7 separate regions of the Homo sapiens genome follow, and regions 2, 3, 4, 5, 6 and 7 are each linked to region 1. The links are contacts of gene promoters, found by promoter capture Hi-C in blood cells and fetal thymus (Javierre and others, 2016). All regions are on one chromosome and are shown on one strand. Each heading gives the region's core, a stretch centred on a gene start or on the middle of the fragment in contact. The rest is flanking DNA. Distances are from core to core; before and after follow the strand shown.

Region 1 (2,560 bases), core at 19-2,518:
AAAACAAAAAACAAAACCCAGCATTAGCAATGTCTTCACAAAAAGGATATATGGAAAATTACACATCTGGGCTCTTGCCAACTGATTGGAATGGTGTGGGTGGGTGAGGAGACAGGGCAAAGCAGAGAGAGGAAATTGTTTAAAAAAAAAAGGATGATGAGAAGTCTGGTTTCAGAAATTTTGCATAATACCTAAATTCAACTAACCTGCAAAAGCTCTGTGGGTAGTGATTTCGTTCTGCATCTCTCACGGTGCCACAGCATTTAAAAGATGCTCAATACTTATTAGTGTGGCCCCAGTCTCACATAAAGCATTTTTGTAATTGACAACATGGTTTTTGGGCTAAGCAAATACCACTCTACTGAAATATTAAACAGGGCAGATTCCCAACTGCAGCTTTAGCGGCAATTTAATGGTTGGCAAATATATTAAGTGGATGTGGACCTCACTATTTGGTCCTCACCCAGAAATACTGTAGGCTGCACACAGAAATTAAGCTTAGTTTCAATGAATAGTGAGACAAATTAGAGATGAAAAAGTTACATCTAACAAATAAAAAAGAAACCAACTTTAATATTCCCTTACCTAGACACCAGTATTCCACATTAGCTTTCCCTTATTGTCCTCTGACAGCATGCTTTAGTTCATCTTTTCAATATGTCTTGATTAACACTACTCCTTAACTTTAGGCTCCCTACCCATTCAAGCCACCCATATAAACTGCGTACACGTCCTTTGACAGCCATAATAAGTATAGTGTATGTTTCTCTCCAGCTCCTTTCCCTGTGATCCTCAACAAACTGCAAACTGTTCAAAGTCTACACATAGTTAATTTTGGTCGGTCCTCAGTTTCTAACGCATCCCGTAGGCGCTCAAAGAATGCGTCTTGTTGTTTTACACGCTTTCAAGTAACCATCGAGAAATCCTAGCAAGACGCGGGTCGGACCGGGTCCCTAGGGATAAAGAGAGCAGCGCCGGGCCAGGCTGGGGCCACTCTGGACCCAGCTTCTTCACAACTCCGCGCCTCTTCCCACAACCCAGCACCCCGCGCCGTCCACACCACGTTTACTTTGACTCGTCTTTGCATGTTACTCTGCCATTCCCGCTGCGCCAGGAGCGACTCGTCTGCTTCTTCGTCAAACACGTCCCCTTTGTCTCCAGGGCCCTGGATCAAGGAGGCTGCTTGAACCCACGACATCACCGAGGCAATTACGGGGTCGCAGGCCACCGGAAGCGCCAACAACTCCTTCCGGTCCGAAGGCGGGGCGAAGACGGCGAGTGGAGGCTCGGGAGGGGCTGCGTGTGCGCGGAGGCGGGCTGTGGCCCGTGGCCGCCGCCGGAGCCTTTCGCTTGCGGTGATTTTGGGCTCCCTCGGTTGGCAGTGTTGATGTGTGCCTGTGAGTTGTGAGCGAGGCAGATTTCCTCGCGTGGCCGGCACGACCTTCACCTTTGCAGAAGGCAACCGGGACCCTCAGTGAGACACCTTCCATTTCCACCGTAGTCTTACCATGGTCTGGGTTTTACATTCGCGCGCTTTGGTAAACTATTAAAGGTAGTAAAGTCGATGGGCGATTACCACCCAAATACTTTGTCTCTTTTGGAATCTCCTCTGCATTTAAAGGATTTGACAAGCCGACATTTTAAACTGTTAGGATTGTGGAGTAAAGGAAAATAGGATCGAAAAGCGAGGTACTGTAGCCAATTTGAGATTAGTAAGAAATATAGAGTACATTTGTAAAGCCAATATATTTTTTCATTGATTCACGATATCCTTCTGCCTCCCATTCCTGTTCATATGCCCTAAAGTAAACAGTTGGTTTGGTAAGGGTGGGGACTTGTGTCAACACCAGGACAGTTCTGACACATAGTAAATGCTGAACTCTATTTTGGTGAATGAATGAATACCTGTAGTATTCCTGTTTTGCCCTTTGCCTGGGTAAAATGAGTCATGTGATTATGATTTATTTATCTAACAATTTATTGAACACCTACCTTGTGTCAGGTACCATTCCAGGCTTTGGGATACATCAATGAACAGACGGAAGTTCCCAACCCTTGTCGACTTTATAGTCATGTAAAATTGACAGGATAAACAATAAGCAATATATAAGTAGCATAAGGTTTGTTAGAAGATCATAAATAAATGCTATGAAAAAAATTTTTAAATAAGCACAGTAAGAACCATAAGTGTGTGGGAGTGGGTGGTTGGTTCATGTTACAATTTTAAATCTCCAGAGAGAATTTGGCATCCCACAAATAAAAAATATATAAACTACAAATATGTATATTTTATTAATGTAAATATATTAAGATATATGTATATATCTTTATTAGGAACAAAATGGTAGTAAGCAATAAAGATAACAATAAAATAGAAAACCTCAAAACTTGAATAAGTAAGTCCAATTCTTTTTTGTATTATTTGAAAACACCAATAAGATAGATAATCCTGTCATGACCCAGATTTTTAAAGAGAACAAAATTATACAAGAATGAGAAATGAGATAACCACTGATGCAGAAGGAGATTAAAATATTAATTACCAACTAAAACTCAAAAG
Region 2 (2,560 bases), core at 41-2,540, 820 kb after region 1:
TCTTGAATGGTATTTTAAAGTGTGTAAGTGAATTTCCAAGTACAGAATTGATTCATGGATACCTTTTAATAATAAATTATTTTAAGCAGCATAAATGCTTATCATTAGTCAGACTATCTTTCTCTAAACATTCTCCTTATTCAGTTGTATTACAGTGTTCTATTTATCTGTGAATGGCAGTCCCACTCAACTATAAACTATCTGTATCTTAACACCCAGAACAAATCTAGGCACTCAGTTGGCTTCTCAGTGGTTTTTTGTTTGAATCCCGTGTCCTCTGATGTATTTGCACTATTTTGCTTTATTATTTAACTTCTTACTTATGTTTTTTGTCTCTGCAGTAGTATCACTGCAGGAGAGTGAAGAGTTGGTAAGAAAGTTTCATCATTTACAATGGTGATTGACAGGCAAGACCATATAGGAATAGGTAAACCATATTTTTAATCAAAATAAAGGAAGATTTTCTCGGTATTAGCTAGGATTAGATTCAACTGTGAGTGATAAAAATCCCAAAATAATTGTGGCTTAACAGAGCAACAGTTTCTTTTTCTGTCACGTGGAAGTGTTGGTGGAGTGGCCCTGCTGAGAGCACCATGCCGCGGGGTCAGAGACCGGGGCTCCTTCCTCTTGTTCGTCCACCTTGGGTGACCTTGACCTCATGACGTAAGGTAGTGCCATCCAATAGTGGAGAGTCAGGGTAAGGGAAGCATTTCAGGCAAGGGGACGCAATGGAGAGGTGAGCAGAGGCAGGTGAAGCTGCACAGAAATTAAGGGCTAGGTTGTGGATGCCTTGTAAGTCGTGGTAGAGATTCTCAGCTTTAAGTCTGAGTGGAGCGATGCAATAGAAAGTTTTGTAGGCAGGGTATGAGATAAGGTTTCCCAGGTGCACTCATTCATCATACTGCACCCGGTTCAGATGCCACTTCCCCTTGAAGCTTCTCACAAGAGGACCACACAGTTTCAGTGTCCCTCCTCTGTACACATGGCCCTTTGTTCATGTTACTCTAATCGTGGAATAATGCGTTGTCACATCTCTGTCACTTCCTGGACCCTGAGCTCCCGGGGGTGGACTCATGCTGCTAATGCTCCTACTAAGCCTCCTCCATTATTCTCTTCTTTGTTTTCCTCTTACCTATAATCATCACTAACATTTTTATTATTGTCATCTTTGCATCTCTATCTAACCTGACCCTCTAGCACCCAGCACAGAGAATATAGTAAATGTATCCTGATTAATTTAGAATTAGTAAGTAATTTATCAATATATAGTAGGTCTTTTTTTTTTTTTTAAGACTAATGGAAATGCTCTCATCTGCATAGTTGCTCCTTTTTGGATCCTTCTTGATCATCAAAAGTGTTTTTTCCTTCTCACCTTTGACAGATCCTTGAGCAGAGTTCTCTTTCAGCCCCTGTGATCTGGCAGTACAAATATTCCTAGTAAATTCAATCATTCATTCGTTCATTCATGCAGCATGAATTCATATTTCCTGAGCTTATGGTATGCACAATACTAGGAAAAGTTCAACCATGAGCAACATTCCTTACATCTTAATGGAGGGAAACAGAGCTTAAACAAATGACTACAGATTTGGAAGGAAGCAGTGCTGTAAGGAAACCTGAAGTAGTGTAAAGAGAGAAAGCTTAGTGGGAAAGGCCCTTTCTTTTCATTTGGTGTCTTGTTTTCTACTCTTGCTCATGAAATGTTCTGAGTAGCTTCAAATATGTTTTAAATTGAATTGTGTAGAGTCCAGTACCTCTGAGAGGTAACTGAGTGCAGCTATTCTAGGGAGATGTGTTCTTTATTTGTTTGCTTTGTTTTATTTTTAAAGAAGCTGTGGAAAAATTCTTTCAAGTGTAAGTTTAAATGACTTTATTACTGTTTGTTCTTATTTGGTCGCCTATAGTAACATTTTTACCCTGCTTTAATTGAAGGCTCTTGAGATCTGTCAACAGAGAAACTTTGTAGAAGAGACAGTTTATCTTCTGAGTAAGTAGCTTTTATTCATTTTGGTCCCCATAAACTAAGAAATGGGATGACAACATGAAGTAAATTGTGTAAGAAAGGACATAGGTTTTAGACCAACGTAACACAGAATATGAGCCTATTTTTACAATAATTTAATATATGAAACAGACTTCACAGCACAGTAAAGAAGGAAGAGTTGTTTCATAAATGTTGAAATAACATATTGGCAATGTATAATCAACATATCAAAATTTATCAGTTTATACCTCACAACATAGATTAAGTTGTAGATGAGTTGACAAGTTTTTTCATTTTCTAAAAAATTATAATCAGCTTATATTACCATCATATTGGTAGAAAATAAATAATCACTTTTAGAAATCACACCCTAAATAACTAGAGGAAATGCAATTGAATACCATAGTTTTGGAGAAGGAGGAGAGCTTTTTAATATAATCTAGGTGTCAGTGTTCCTGGTCTTCTGGCTCCTACCTCCACATGAGTCACAATTTTTGTACCATGCATACCAAGAAACAAAACTTGTCATCTTTTCACATTCTTCCAAAATGAGCCACGTGCATGACAACAATGTGG
Region 3 (2,560 bases), core at 19-2,518, 770 kb after region 1:
GGCCAGACAGACCTGGGATCAAGTCCAGCTTCTCCATTTTCCTTTGGGATCCTCTGTGAGCCTTACTGTCCTCATCTGCAAAGTGGTAGTGCTAATTGTTCTCACATCACAAGTTTTGGGGAGAAATAAATGAGCCAATGCATGTAAAGAGTTTTGCATAGAATCTGATGTAATTGCTTAATAAATGTTAGCTGTCATTATTATATAAAGTTCTAGCAATGTCATGAAGGGGACGTGGCTATTTAAAATGTACTCTTCTCTGGAAAGGGAAAGTGGAAAATTATTAATGTAATGATTGTTATTAGCAAAACAAACATTGTTACACTTCAGGCCCTCCCAGCCCTCATGTTGTTATCATTCAGGTTCTTTTTTCTTCATGTGTTACATGAACACAACCTGATTTATATTTAGGGTAACAGGAAGGAAACTGTGCCTATATCGTAGGATGGAAAAAGGGATTCCCTGGGCTCCCTGTCCCACGTGTGTGGTTACTCATCCAATAAATTTATATTCTTAGTATTTTAAAAATCCCTTAAATGGACCAGGTTGCTTGTTAGTTTTAAAGTTCTGATTTTCTTTTCTTATGGTGAAAGACAAGGAAAATTAGCCTGTAGAAATATGTAACAAGTTTACTCATTACTCCCAGAAATTCTTTCTCTGGTATGCTGAATAATGGCCCCAAGGATAGCAAGCCCTAATTCCTAGAACCTATAAATGTTTCTTTATATGACAAAAAGGTAAATATTACTTTATTTAGCAAAAGATATGATTAAGTTAAGGATCTTGAGATGGGGAATTAACCTACATTATCTGGGTGGGCCCTAAATGCAATCACGTTTATCTTTATGAGAGGGAGGCAGAGGGAGATGCTAACATGGAAGAGAGGAGGAGAAGGCAGTACCACTGTGGAGGCAGAAATTGGAGTGAGGTGGTCAGTGAATGGTGGCAGCCACCAGAAAGCTGGAGGAGACAGCAGATTGTCCCCTAGAGCCTCCAGAGGAAGTACAGCCTTGCCAACACCTTGATTTTAGCCCAGTGAACCCAATTTCAGACTTGTAGCCTGCGGAACTGTAACAGATGTTTAAAACAACATCTCTGTTGTTTTAAACCACCAAGTGTGGCAGTCTGTTATAGCAGCCATGGGAAACATATACCCTTTCTTTATGCCCAAGTTAAGATCCAGCTTCTATACAATTTTTATGTCAAATATTTCATTTTATTGGAGGTTCCTTTTCTTCAAACTCAGTTCTATATGTTGAGCACTTCTCAGTGTAGACTCTTAGTGAGTTCTGTTGAAGGAAGAGGAGATAAGGACGTGGTCTTTCTTCAGAGGGACAGCAATCTTGTTGGGGAGAAGCAACCAGAAACAGTAAAATAAAGTGTGCAATTGGACCTTACCATTTACTTCATTCATTCATTTGCCCAACAAACGTTTACCAGGTGCCTGCAGTGTGCCAGGCAGTGTTCTAGTGTTGCAGAACACAAATATACAAATGAATGAGTTCCTTCCCTTGGGAAATTTATGTTCTAGTGAGGAAGGTGGACAAAAACAAGTAAGTATAGCATGTTGAAGGTGGCAAATAAAAAGGAGAACATTTTAACAGGATAATAGGAAAAGGGATTGGGGTAGGTACCATTTAATATAGGGTGGTCCAGGGATGGCCTGTCCAATAACTAATATGTTGTTTGGTCAGAGATCTGGAGAGAAAAGTTATACAGCTCTATGGGGGCCTGGGGTAGGAGGTGTTAGCAGAAGGAGCAGGAGTGCAAAAATTCTTGAAGCAGGAGTGTGATTGGTGTGCTTTTGAGGAACAGCAAGGAAGCTGTTTGTGTCAGAGTGAGTGGAGCAGATGTGGAGGAGAGGGATGTAAGTGGGGGTCGGGGAGGGTGTGGTGGAGGAGCAGGTGATGTTGGAGCCCAGGGGCCCTTGAGAAGTCTTTGGCTTTTAATTTGACTGAGGTAGGAAGCCAGCACAGGGCTTTGAGCTGTTGTGGAGTCAGTTAAGTGATCTAACTTGTATTTTGGAAGGATCTCTGGTTGCTGTGTGGAGCTAAACGGCAAAGGGGCAGTCAAGAGGGGAGACCAATTAGGCTACCGCAGTCATCTCCATAAAAAATAATGTTGTCTCAGGTCAGTGTAATGCAGCTGGTGAGAAATGACCAGATCCTGGATATATTTTGATGGTAGACTCTGCAGTATTTGTTGACAGTTGGATGTGGGGTGTAAGATCACAGTCACCTAACATACTGGAAGGTGAAACTACCTTTTGCTGAAATGGGAAAGACTGTTGATAAAGCATGTTTAGAGTGAAAAAGGCAAGAGTTGGTTTTAGGTGTGTCTACTTGAGAGATGCCTGTTATCCACCCATGTGGAGAAGTGGAGGAAGCAGATTAGAGTTCATGGGCAAGAACCCACCTATCAGTGGTAAAGGGCTCTTACAGTCATTGATTTGTGCTTATGCAAGACATGAGCTTAAGGTAGCACTTACCTATTCACCCACCTTTACCTGCCACTTCCTACCTATGAGACAGGTGCTGGGTGAGCCCAGACCACAGAGCTG
Region 4 (2,560 bases), core at 39-2,538, 740 kb after region 1:
AATGAAATTCCTTCTGTTTTACATTATATTATCTCCTGTTTGTAGAACCCAAATAACAAACTTGGCACAAGTATATAAAAACAGTAGTTACAAAATGAGTGGATGGTCCCCAAAACTTTAACTTTTAATGCATGAATCTATTTCCCAAAATTATAACATAAGTGAATTTCCTGCTTGGGGCTTGAAAGAATGAACCACTCAGAACTTACCAAGATTAAAATAAGAAGAAATTGAAAGTTTAAGTAGTCCTATATTTATTTTTCAAATAGAATTTATAATTGGAAACCTTTTCACAAAGAAACTATCTTAGTCCATTTGTGTTGCCATAACAAAATACCTTAGACTGGGTAGTTTATAAATAACAGAAATTTATTTCTCACAGTTCTGAAGGCTGGGAAGTCTGATTTCAAGGTGCCAGCATTTGGCATCTGGTGAGGGCTGCTCTCCTTGCTTCCAAGATGGCGCCTTGTTATTGTAACTTCACATGGCAGAAGGGATGAATTATGTGTCCCTGTGTGGCAGAAGGCAGAAGAGCAAAAGGACTAGCTAGTCACCTCAAGCTATAGCTAGTTACCCCAAGCTTTCTTATAAGGGCACCAATCTCACCTATGAGGGCTCCACCTTCATAATTTAATCACTCACTAAAGGCCCTACTTCTTAATACCATCACCTTGGAGGTTAGGTTTCAACACAGTGAATTTGGGGAGAACACATACATTCAGACCATAGCAAAGCCATGAGACCTAGATGGCTTCACCAGTGAATTCCTACAAAAGTTAAAGAAGAATAATACCACTATACTAGAGACTAGAAAGACAGTGAACACATTCCAATGTTGGGAAATAGTTCTCATTGGCTCTAGTACTATTTGTTAGCTCCAAGCATTTGAGATCTCATGGAATTCTTATGCTGAGAGTATAAATAACCATCACTTTGGAGGTTAGGTTTCAACGTAATGAATTTGGGGGAACACAAACATTCAAACTTTCTCATGGTGAGAGCATAATTAATTTGAAACCACTTTGTGAAATGGTTTGCCTATTAAATGTGAACATGCACATAACCTATGACTCAGCAATTCCATTCCAAGGTATACACCCTTCATGAATATGTATATAAGTCCACCAAAAGATTTGCAAAGCATGTTCTTAGCAGCAGTATTCATGATAGCCCCAATCTGGAAACAACCTAAGTGGTCATCAATGGAAGATGGATATGTGAATTGTGATATATTCATACATGAAATAATACCCAGCAGTGGCAAAGAAGCAACCTCTACTATATCCAACAGTGTGGCTAAATCTCACAAAGAAAATGTTAAATAATGAATGAAATAAATCAGTGAAATAGAATATGATTCCTTACTTACAAAATTCTAACACCAGCACAACTTATCCATGCCAGTAGCTTTGAGGGTAGTGATTAGTTGGAGGGTGTTATTTACTGGAAAGGGAAACAAAGGAGCTTATTGGCTTCTATTTCTTGATCAGAGTGATGGTTACACGGATATGTTCGTGTCATAAAAATTCATCAAACTATAAATTTATGATTTGTATTTTTTATAGCATGTGTTTTATATTTCAGTTTTGTTTTTGTTTTGTTGTTGTTAAGTAAAGCACTCAGAAAATATACTAAGTATGAATAAAGTAGCCTGGAACAACTTTAAGGGAGACACTGATAAGCAGGAACTTAAATCTTTCATTTCTGTATTCTCAGTAGATTTAGCATAAGTTGTGAGTGAAGTGTGGTTCACCTAATCTCTTACCACACTGATCTACATGGTTGGTTTATTTTATATATATGAGAGACACTAAAAAAAAATCTCCCCTTTCCTTTAAGGGATGAAAAAATAGTTCCTTTAGGGACAGCTTATGGAAGTTTATAAAAGAATAGTAATAACTTGTTCAAATCTGTTTCATTGTTTTAATGGCATGCATTTAATACAATTTGTGGTGATTGAAGGGAACTCTATCCATGGAATGCTTATGAAAGCTTAATTGCAGCAAAGTACCCTCAACCTGATGGGATTTTCTTTTTTCTTTTTTCTTTTTCTTTTTCTTTTTTTTTTTTTTTGAGACGGAGTCTCACTCTGTCACCCATGCTGGAGTGCAGTGGCGCAATCTCGGCTCTCTGCAACCTCTGCCTCCCAGGTTCAAGCAATTCTCCTATCATCCTCCTGAGTAGCTGGGACTACAGATGCACGCCACCATGCCTGGCTAATTTTCATATTTTTAGTAGAGATGGGGTTTCACCATATTGGTCAGGGTGGTCTTCAACTCCTGACCTTAGGTGATCCACCCACCTCGGCCTCTGCCTCTCAAAGTGCTGGGATTACAGGCGTGAGCCACCGTACGTGGCTGATGGGATTGTTTTCATTAGATATTTAATAGAGGTCACGGGGCCTTAAAATTATTAAATATTCTACTTTTCTTATTGATAGTATGTGTTCATACTGACTCAGTAGCCTTCTCTATTGCTGTCATGGTGAGCTGATACAATCCATTTTCTTTGTAGGTGCAGGTATTTGGACTGTATTCTGGAGAAGAATTTCACGAGACTT
Region 5 (2,560 bases), core at 43-2,542, 720 kb after region 1:
CACAACTTCTTATTTGAAGAGTGACAAATGTCTGCTAGTCTGTGGGCTTATCTTTCAGTTTCCCATTTATGGTGTTTTAGGTTCAGAAATTTTTTATTTTAATGCAGTAAATATGTATCAGTCTTCTCATTTACAGTTTGTGTGTTTTGTGTCTTCTAAGGGAAAATTGTATTTTGCTTCTACAAAGTTGTAAAGATATGGAAGGGGGGCAAGGAAGTGCTGGGAAGGGAAGGGTGTGTCTCTGGCTAGGGCTCCACCCCTGGGCCTATACCTAAGGACCCAGGTGAGGACAGGAATTCCTGTTTTCCTGCCCAAATGTTGCATTTCCCAAGACCACCCTGTCCTGCCACACCCCATCCTGTGCCTATAAAACCCCTGAGGCCCTAGTGGGCAGAGACACAAGCAGCTGGACGTCCAGAGGAGCACATCAGCAGAAGAACACACAAGCGGGATGTTGAGAGGAGCACATTGGTTGAAGAGCATGCCAGCAGGCACCGGCAGACACCGGCACGCTGGTAGGCCATCAACTGGTAGAACAACACAGAGTTTGGCCTGGGAGGTTGGAGGAGAGGCCGGGCTACTGAGCGGCCAGACTTCAGGAGAAAACTGTCTCCTTTCGGGCTCCCCCATCTGCTGAGAGCTACCACTCAATAAAACCTTGCAGTAATTCTCCAAGCCCAGGTGTGATCTGATTCAAGGCAAGAAACCCTAGGATACAGAAAGCCCTTTGTCCTTGCTATAAAGCAGGGGGTCTGATTGAGCTGACTAACACAAGCCACCTACAGAAGGCTAAACTAAAAGAGCATCCTGTAACACACCCCCACTGGGGCTTCAGAAGCTTAAACATTCACCCCTAGATGCTGCCGTGGGGTCAGGAGCACCACAGCCCACCCATCTGCATGTTCCTCCTAGGGGTTTGAGCAGCAGGGCACCGAAGAAGTGAGCCACACTCCCATCACATGCCCTGTGAAGGAGATGAGGGAACTTTTCCTGTTTCAATATTCTTTGTATGTCCTTCTAAAGTTTTAAAGTTTTGCTTTTTACATTGTCTTCACTTTTCCTCAAGAAAAAAAAATTCTCACTGGACTGTGAGAAGAATTTATTCCTTGATATTGTGACAGATACTGAAGTTCTTACCTTGCCAGAAAAAAAATTACACGAAAATGAGTCCCTTGAACCTACTGATTTCCCATTTTCTTTCCTTAGCTCCTGTCCAGCCCTTGACCCCATTGCATTAGTGGAATCTACTATCCCAGATTGGATGTAGAAAGAGCAGTGGTGATATAATGATTAGAGAAGAAACTCTGGCGGGGCGGTAATGTCCAGCAGAAGGATGGTTGACGGGTTCTGGAGGTGGCAGCACTGCACGCAGGCCAGGCTTGGGGTCAGACGCCAGCCAGCCAGCCCTGCCACACGTTCATTAGTTTGGTGTGTTACCACACTTTCTTCATCTGTAAAGTGTGGATCATAATCACACCTGATTTCAATGATGGTTTTGAGAATTATATGAACGAATACATGTAAAATATGTAACATAAGGCTTAGTAAACATTAGTCGTTATCAGAAGGTGGATCAAGCTAAGAGTCCAACTGAACATGTTTACTACACTTCCTGAAGAACTATTATTTTTGAATTTATTCATATGTTTGGCTTTAATAATGTTCAATTGTATATGGGGTAGGCAAACTGAAAGGGAGGTAGGGAAGAAAGAAAGAAAAACGAAGGGGAAAAAAAGAGAAGCTTCTGCGACACACCCATTCTTACACCCATTTTGCTGCCTCCCTATCCCTCAGCTCCTGTGTTTATTTGGGAGGAGTGGGTATCTTTTATCACATTACACAAATAGTATTTTAAGAACATTATTAAGCTTGAGTAATTAGGTGTGTGAAGTCGATCCCAGTGCAGGTCTAGTGAGTTGACTTCAGAAATGTCTTTTCGATGTAGCAACATTGCAACATGGCTTGTAAGATGCTTCTTTTGAAAAGTTTTGAGAGACTGCTTGGAAAATGATTTAATGGGGATTGATAAAGCAGTGTTTTTACACTGGAGAGCATTATAACAATAATTTCTGTGGTGGAAGTAGAGTCAAATTTGTGAAGTGTTAAGTAGTCTTTCTTCGTCATATGTTGGAAAAATAAATTAGGCATTTTCTCTTTGGTTAATAACTTGGTCTCAGTTATTTAAATTATTTGTACTACCCACCCTTTTTAGGTAAGTGACTTTACTAATGTGGAAAACAAGGGCTTTACTCTCTCAAATGTTTAGATTTTAGATAAATAGAATGCATTAGCATTGCTGCAGCTATCATTAAATCAAAAATAAAAGTGAGAAAAATAAGAACACACCTTTACTCCTAACAGATTTTTCCTTTATCATTGATGGTATCATTTACTTGTATATTGAGAACTTAAACAGGGATATTTATGGGCCCTGCTGAGATGTTCAGAAAGCTCTGCAGCCTTCATGGGTCTGCTATATGTTTGGCTTTCTTTAGCTGCTTTTATTAGTGGAGTTTGTTCTCAAAGGTGTGGCATAGCAGATCCTTAGGATTAGGGTAGC
Region 6 (2,560 bases), core at 35-2,534, 690 kb after region 1:
GTTTCAGTGCAGCCGTTTTTAAATACAGAGATTCACAGGCATCCATGTCATCACAGTTCTTTACTTTAGAATATGACTGTTTTCCCCAAAGACCTGAGTAGATTAAATACGTCTCTCAGAATCGCATCAGGGAGGGATGGGAGTGGGGAAACCTCTGAGAGAGCTTAAGGGTTTAGTCTGTTGTCATCATTTCCATCACCAGTGATTGGGCAGTTGTGAGGGATTTGGGCTGTCATGGGCTACTTTTAGTCTTTACAGGCATCCAGGAGAGGTTCTTGGCTAAAATAGGAGAGGGTAGCATTTCCTTTTACATTCCTAATAACAAGATTCACACTTAAATGTGTGTGAAAAAAAATTTTTTTAAATGATGTGGTAAAATAAAAAGTAATGTATCTTCATCTTTTAATAGCTTAAAACAATGAGGTAATTAGATAAGAAGTGTTACTGTTTGGTTTTATGGTCTGGTCATGTGATAGGAAGTAACTTAGAAGGGAGGCCATGAGTTCTGCAGTGTGAAGTTGGGGTTGTAATACACATCATGGCTGTATTTTTAGTATTTCACATTCACTGGGTATTACCAGATACTAAGCTTTGTGCTTTACGTACATTTATTGCATTTAATTCTTACAAAAGTCCTCTGAGGTGCAGGTTATCATTTCCTTTTCACAAAAGGCAAGGTAACCAAGGTTTTAAGTAACTAGTACAGTGTATATGCGCTGCATATGGTAGAAATGGCAAAAGAAAAATTTTAGTTTGTTTTGTGACTGGCTCTTGATTATGAATTTCAGTAGGATTTTGGATAATTTTCTTTCTTTCTTTTTTTTTTTTTTAAAGAAATGACATTAGTGACCTTTATTAAGATACTTGATTGTCCTTACATCTCATACCTATTTCAGCAGGGGTCTCCAACCCACCGGTCCATGTGCGCAGTGGGGGAGTGAGCATTACCGCCTGCGGTCCACCTCCTGTTAGATCAGCCACAGCATTAGATTCTCATACAAGCATGAACCCTACTGTGATCTGTGCATGCGAAGGATCTAGGTTGCACTCCTTATGAGGATCTAATGCCTGATGATCTGAGGTGGAACAATTTCATCCCCAAACCGAGACCATCACCACCACCCTCACCCTGGTGGAAAAATTGTCTTCCACAAAACCAGTCCCTGGTGCCAAAAAGGTTGGGGACCACTGTCTTACAGCAGCTTCTGGATTTTTTTTTTTCTGTTATTTGAATACTTCCTCCAAAAATACGATTCAGTGTGGGAATTTGTGAGGTGACTCTTCTGAGCCTTCATGAAGTGCACTTTGAGTTAATCCACAGAGGAAGCAGCCCCTAACAAGCATCTCTACTTGTTAGGAGGAAGGGAGAAAATGGAGGAGTGAATGCAGCCGGCCAGTCCTCACCCCTGTGAGGCTGGGCTGTTGCTGCCCATTTCTGTAGTGAATGGGGAAGCAAAACCAGGCACCCGGGGGAGAGGTCAACGCTGGATCTACCAGCTTTCCTTGACCCTCATCCTTACTGTTGCCCCTGGCTCCCCACTGTGGGTCGTTTCAGTGCCTCCATAGTTTCTTACTTGGGCATGTTAATTTCTGGAATCCCTCTTTCCTCTCATTTTTAGCATGTCTTCAGGGCTGAGTTGGGGGTAGAAGGCCAGCAGCACAGGTCAGCTCTCTGTCTTGGCAGAAGCCATGTTTTGTTCTTTCTAGTCATACTGTCTTCAAATAAGACCATACCAACTAGGATCAATTTATTACGTTTTCCATTTTCTTGTCTTTTGCCTTGGCTAAAACTTCTAAGTTGGTTTTGAAAAAAGCAGAAGTGATTGTTGGCACCTGTGCGTTGTTTCCTGCTGATGATGGGAATGTTTCTCTTATTTCATTGCTCCATATCATGTTGACTTCTGAATTCAAATGGTCATTCGTGGCTCTTCATTCTTAGCTCTTCGGTAAAGAAACCTTTGTATTTACTGAAAGCTTTTTTAAGATCAGAAACAAGTGTTGAACTTTATAAATGCTGTCTGCAGTGTCTGTCAAGATGGCCCTGCGTTTTCTTTTTCCTCTGACTTATCAAATGACGTCAGATTTCCTAATACTCAGTCTTTGTGTTTTTGCAATATTTGATCTTACATGTTTTTTATTAATATATGCGGGGTTTGATTTATGATATTTAGACTTTCTACATTTAAATTTCTACATGAGATGACAGAATTTTATGTATATTTTTTGTTGTTTTTGGTGTACTGTTTGGGAGTTTTGATATCATGGTTATCAAAATGAATTTGGAAGTTTTTATATTTGCCTCTTATGGGGCAGCTTAAATAAGTTGGGAATTTTCCATTCTTTGAAGGTTTTTAATAGAACTTGCCACTGAAACAGCCTGAGCCATGTACCTTTCTGCATGAGATAGATAGTACTTTAATGGCTTTTATTTTCTCACTGTTTTTTTGTGTGTCTCATATTCAATTTGTCTGTAAAAGGTATTAATGCTTGGACTTACTATTTTTTTTTCTGGTTTATTAATTCATTTTAGCTTTACTTTTGTTAGTTTTCTCTGGTCCCT
Region 7 (2,560 bases), core at 40-2,539, 510 kb before region 1:
GATTACATATTTATAAGTGTCACCTCCACAACATGATATCCAACTAGTTCAGGAAAAAAGTAGACAGTGATAAAGCAAATGTGTCCAACTATTATTAACTGTTGAATCTAGGTAAAGGATATACATGAATACTCTTTGTACTATTCTTCCTATTTTTCTATAGAGTTGAAATTTTTCCAAATCAGAAGTTTAAAAAATGTTATTTGAAGGGGTACTGAGCCCAAGTTTTAAGATTACTGATACACACTAAGAAAAAAGCAAACATGAAACAATAATTCAACAGTGAAAAATTCAGGTCCCTCATGATGTCAGGTAATAGATCCTTTTTGGCTCCCAAATCATCCCATAAAGGCCAACCATGTACAGCTCAATAAAAGCTTACTGAAGCTGAATATGACAGCCTCATAGAAATATAATAAGCACTATCTAACTGATAAGCAGAAGAACCAGGATTTGAACTCCAGAGCCCATGTCTGTTCATTTAAAATATGCTATTTTTATTACATGGAAACATTTTATTATTATAGATAATAGGCTTGCTTTTAATGATGCTCCTTATCATTTTAAAAATTATTAAGAAAAGGCTGGGCGTGGTGGCTCAAATCTGTAATCCTAGCAGTTTAGGAGGCCAAGGTGGGTGGATCACCTGAGGTCAAGAGTTCAAGACCAGCCTGGCCAACATGGTGAAATCCCATCTCTACTAAAAATACAAAAATTAGCCAGATGTGGTGGTGCATGCCTGTAATCCCAGCTACTCGGGAGGCTGAAGCAGGAGAATCACTTGAACCTGAGACGCAGAGGTTGTAGTGAGCTGAGATCGTGCCACTGCACCCCAGCCTGGGAGACAGAGTGAGACTTTGTCTCAAGACAAAAAAATAAAATAAAAATTACTAAGAAAATACCTACAAGGTTTCTAGATCCTGTCAAGGAATGCAAATGAACGTTTTCCTTCCCCCCTACTCCCCAAATCAATCCTAGAGAAATAACAGGAGCCATTTGAAGTTACAGGTTCAAGAGAAGCCAGCTATTTTGACTCCCAAACTCTATATATTTCCCCCATCAGACAATAATTCCTTCTATACAGGCTTCTGATACTAACATTCTTTTCATTCAATGATAAGAAATTTATATTGTATACTATGCTATAAAGTATTTTCAGAACCTCTCTTACTTATTGGACTAATGTGAATTTGAGAGCTGGCTGTACCCTTTACTAGATTTGTATTCTTGGGCAAGTTTCTTAACCTCTCTGAGCCTGCTTCCTCCTCTGTGAAGTGGTGATGATAATAATACTAATACCTACCTTATAAGGTTATAAAGATTAATGTAATAAATGAAAAATGCTTAGCATGGCACTCAAAATTATGGCTATAGCTGTACCAGTAGTAGTGTTAAGTATTTAGTAGAAGTAGTATTAGAATAGCAACAGCAGTAATATTTTTTTTTTTTTGAGACGGAGTCTTGCTCTTGTCACCCAGGCTGGAGTGCAATGCCATGATCTTGGCTCACTGCAACCTCCGCCTCGCGGGTTCAAGCGATTCTCCTGCCTCAGCCTCCCAAGTAGCTGGGATTACAGGCGCCTGCCACCACGTCTGGCTAATTTTTGTAATTTTAGTAGAGACGGGGTTTTGCCATGTTGGCCAGACTGGTCTCAAACTCCTGACCTCATGATCCGCCCACCTCGGCCTCCCAAAGTGCTGGGATTATAGGCGTGAGCCACCGCGCCCGGCAGCAGTAATATTTTCTTAGAGTTGAAATATATTATTAAATCTTGAGGTCAATCAAGCCTAAAATTAGCTAGAAGGCAGCTGTTTTTGCTAGCCCTATGGGTAAACATTAAGCAAGCATCTATATCCCAGATGTGCAAATTATGTGTATTACTGCTGTTTTATCTTTCCTTTATTATATTTTTCTCATAACCAGACATGAAATATCTTATTATATATGTTATTAAAACTGTTTTAATATAATAAATATAATAATAATATATAATAATAATAGGATAAAAAGTCACTTACTCTGGTGGAGGCATTTTTGAGGGTTCCACATCTCGGAGGAACTCGCACTGAAGAGCCTGTTCAGCAGTGCAGCGCTTACTAGGATCCAAGGCAAGCATGTAATCAAATAAGTCTAGCGCAGCTGCAGGAATACTAGCATGAGAGGATTACAAAAGTTAGATGTGTTCTTTAGACACAAGCTTATGTTTCTTTAGGAGCTTAAATTATTTTTAATTAAATTTTAAAACTAAAACTAAGATCATTTAAAAATAATTGTAAATACTTTTTTAATATGTGCATAATACTTTACTTCAATAAATCCGAATTTTCCTTTGAATAAATATTTCATTTTTACATAATTTTTGTAACCACTTTCTAAACAATAGTATATATTGTTACTTATCGGTAATTTGCTGTTATTATACAAATTAAGAACTGAACAGTATAGTTTTTTCTAAAGCAAAATGAAAACTTGAGCTCAAGTAACTTGAAAGCTGTTCCAGTAACATTTAAATGATCTTATTAAAGTTCTTTCACGTAAGCACCAAACCAAACACACAATC

Evidence for each region. Contacts are between HindIII fragments. The CHiCAGO score rates a contact against its expected background, and 5 or more counts as called.
Region 2: a contact is called between a fragment that was not itself captured here and the fragment with the promoter of YAE1-DT in region 1, in 2 of 17 cell types (M0 macrophages and M1 macrophages). The highest score is 5.3, in M0 macrophages.
Region 3: a contact is called between a fragment that was not itself captured here and the fragment with the promoter of YAE1-DT in region 1, in 4 of 17 cell types (megakaryocytes, fetal thymus, M1 macrophages and 1 more). The highest score is 6.4, in megakaryocytes.
Region 4: a contact is called between a fragment that was not itself captured here and the fragment with the promoter of YAE1-DT in region 1, in 3 of 17 cell types (naive B cells, total B cells and M1 macrophages). The highest score is 5.5, in naive B cells.
Region 5: a fragment that was not itself captured here is called in contact with the fragment with the promoter of YAE1-DT in region 1 in 1 of 17 cell types (erythroblasts); the score reaches 5.1 in erythroblasts.
Region 6: a contact is called between a fragment that was not itself captured here and the fragment with the promoter of YAE1-DT in region 1, in 2 of 17 cell types (total B cells and erythroblasts). The highest score is 5.8, in total B cells.
Region 7: a contact is called between a fragment that was not itself captured here and the fragment with the promoter of YAE1-DT in region 1, in 1 of 17 cell types (activated CD4 T cells). The highest score is 5.3, in activated CD4 T cells.

Annotation. Positions count from the first base shown.
Region 1 is chr7:39,565,057-39,567,616 of GRCh38, reverse strand. It overlaps YAE1-DT (YAE1 divergent transcript), which reads left to right and starts at 1,268. Exons shown (of 3, transcript NR_187579.1): 1 at 1,268-1,474. It overlaps YAE1 (YAE1 maturation factor of ABCE1), which reads right to left and starts at 1,213. Exons shown (of 3, transcript NM_020192.5): 1 at 1,070-1,213. The coding sequence starts at 1,198. RefSeq lists an enhancer at 927-1,376. The HindIII fragment of the contact is 5,827 bases long and covers 500-2,560 here.
Region 2 is chr7:38,744,986-38,747,545 of GRCh38, reverse strand. It overlaps VPS41 (VPS41 subunit of HOPS complex), which reads left to right. Exons shown (of 29, transcript NM_014396.4): 23 at 1,933-1,987. Among named protein-coding and RNA genes, the nearest start is that of AMPH, 110 kb to the right of the region's middle. The HindIII fragment of the contact is 705 bases long and covers 938-1,642 here.
Region 3 is chr7:38,792,145-38,794,704 of GRCh38, reverse strand. All of the region lies in intron 9 of VPS41 (VPS41 subunit of HOPS complex), which reads left to right. Among named protein-coding and RNA genes, the nearest start is that of VPS41, 120 kb to the left of the region's middle. The HindIII fragment of the contact is 7,889 bases long and covers 1-2,560 here.
Region 4 is chr7:38,821,220-38,823,779 of GRCh38, reverse strand. It overlaps VPS41 (VPS41 subunit of HOPS complex), which reads left to right. Exons shown (of 29, transcript NM_014396.4): 6 at 2,515-2,560. Among named protein-coding and RNA genes, the nearest start is that of VPS41, 87 kb to the left of the region's middle. The HindIII fragment of the contact is 1,412 bases long and covers 583-1,994 here.
Region 5 is chr7:38,847,563-38,850,122 of GRCh38, reverse strand. All of the region lies in intron 4 of VPS41 (VPS41 subunit of HOPS complex), which reads left to right. Among named protein-coding and RNA genes, the nearest start is that of VPS41, 60 kb to the left of the region's middle. The HindIII fragment of the contact is 903 bases long and covers 841-1,743 here.
Region 6 is chr7:38,878,162-38,880,721 of GRCh38, reverse strand. All of the region lies in intron 2 of VPS41 (VPS41 subunit of HOPS complex), which reads left to right. Among named protein-coding and RNA genes, the nearest start is that of VPS41, 30 kb to the left of the region's middle. The HindIII fragment of the contact is 1,385 bases long and covers 592-1,976 here.
Region 7 is chr7:40,078,310-40,080,869 of GRCh38, reverse strand. CDK13 (cyclin dependent kinase 13) reads right to left here. Exons shown (of 14, transcript NM_003718.5): 11 at 2,019-2,150. Among named protein-coding and RNA genes, the nearest start is that of MPLKIP, 55 kb to the left of the region's middle. The HindIII fragment of the contact is 1,820 bases long and covers 380-2,199 here.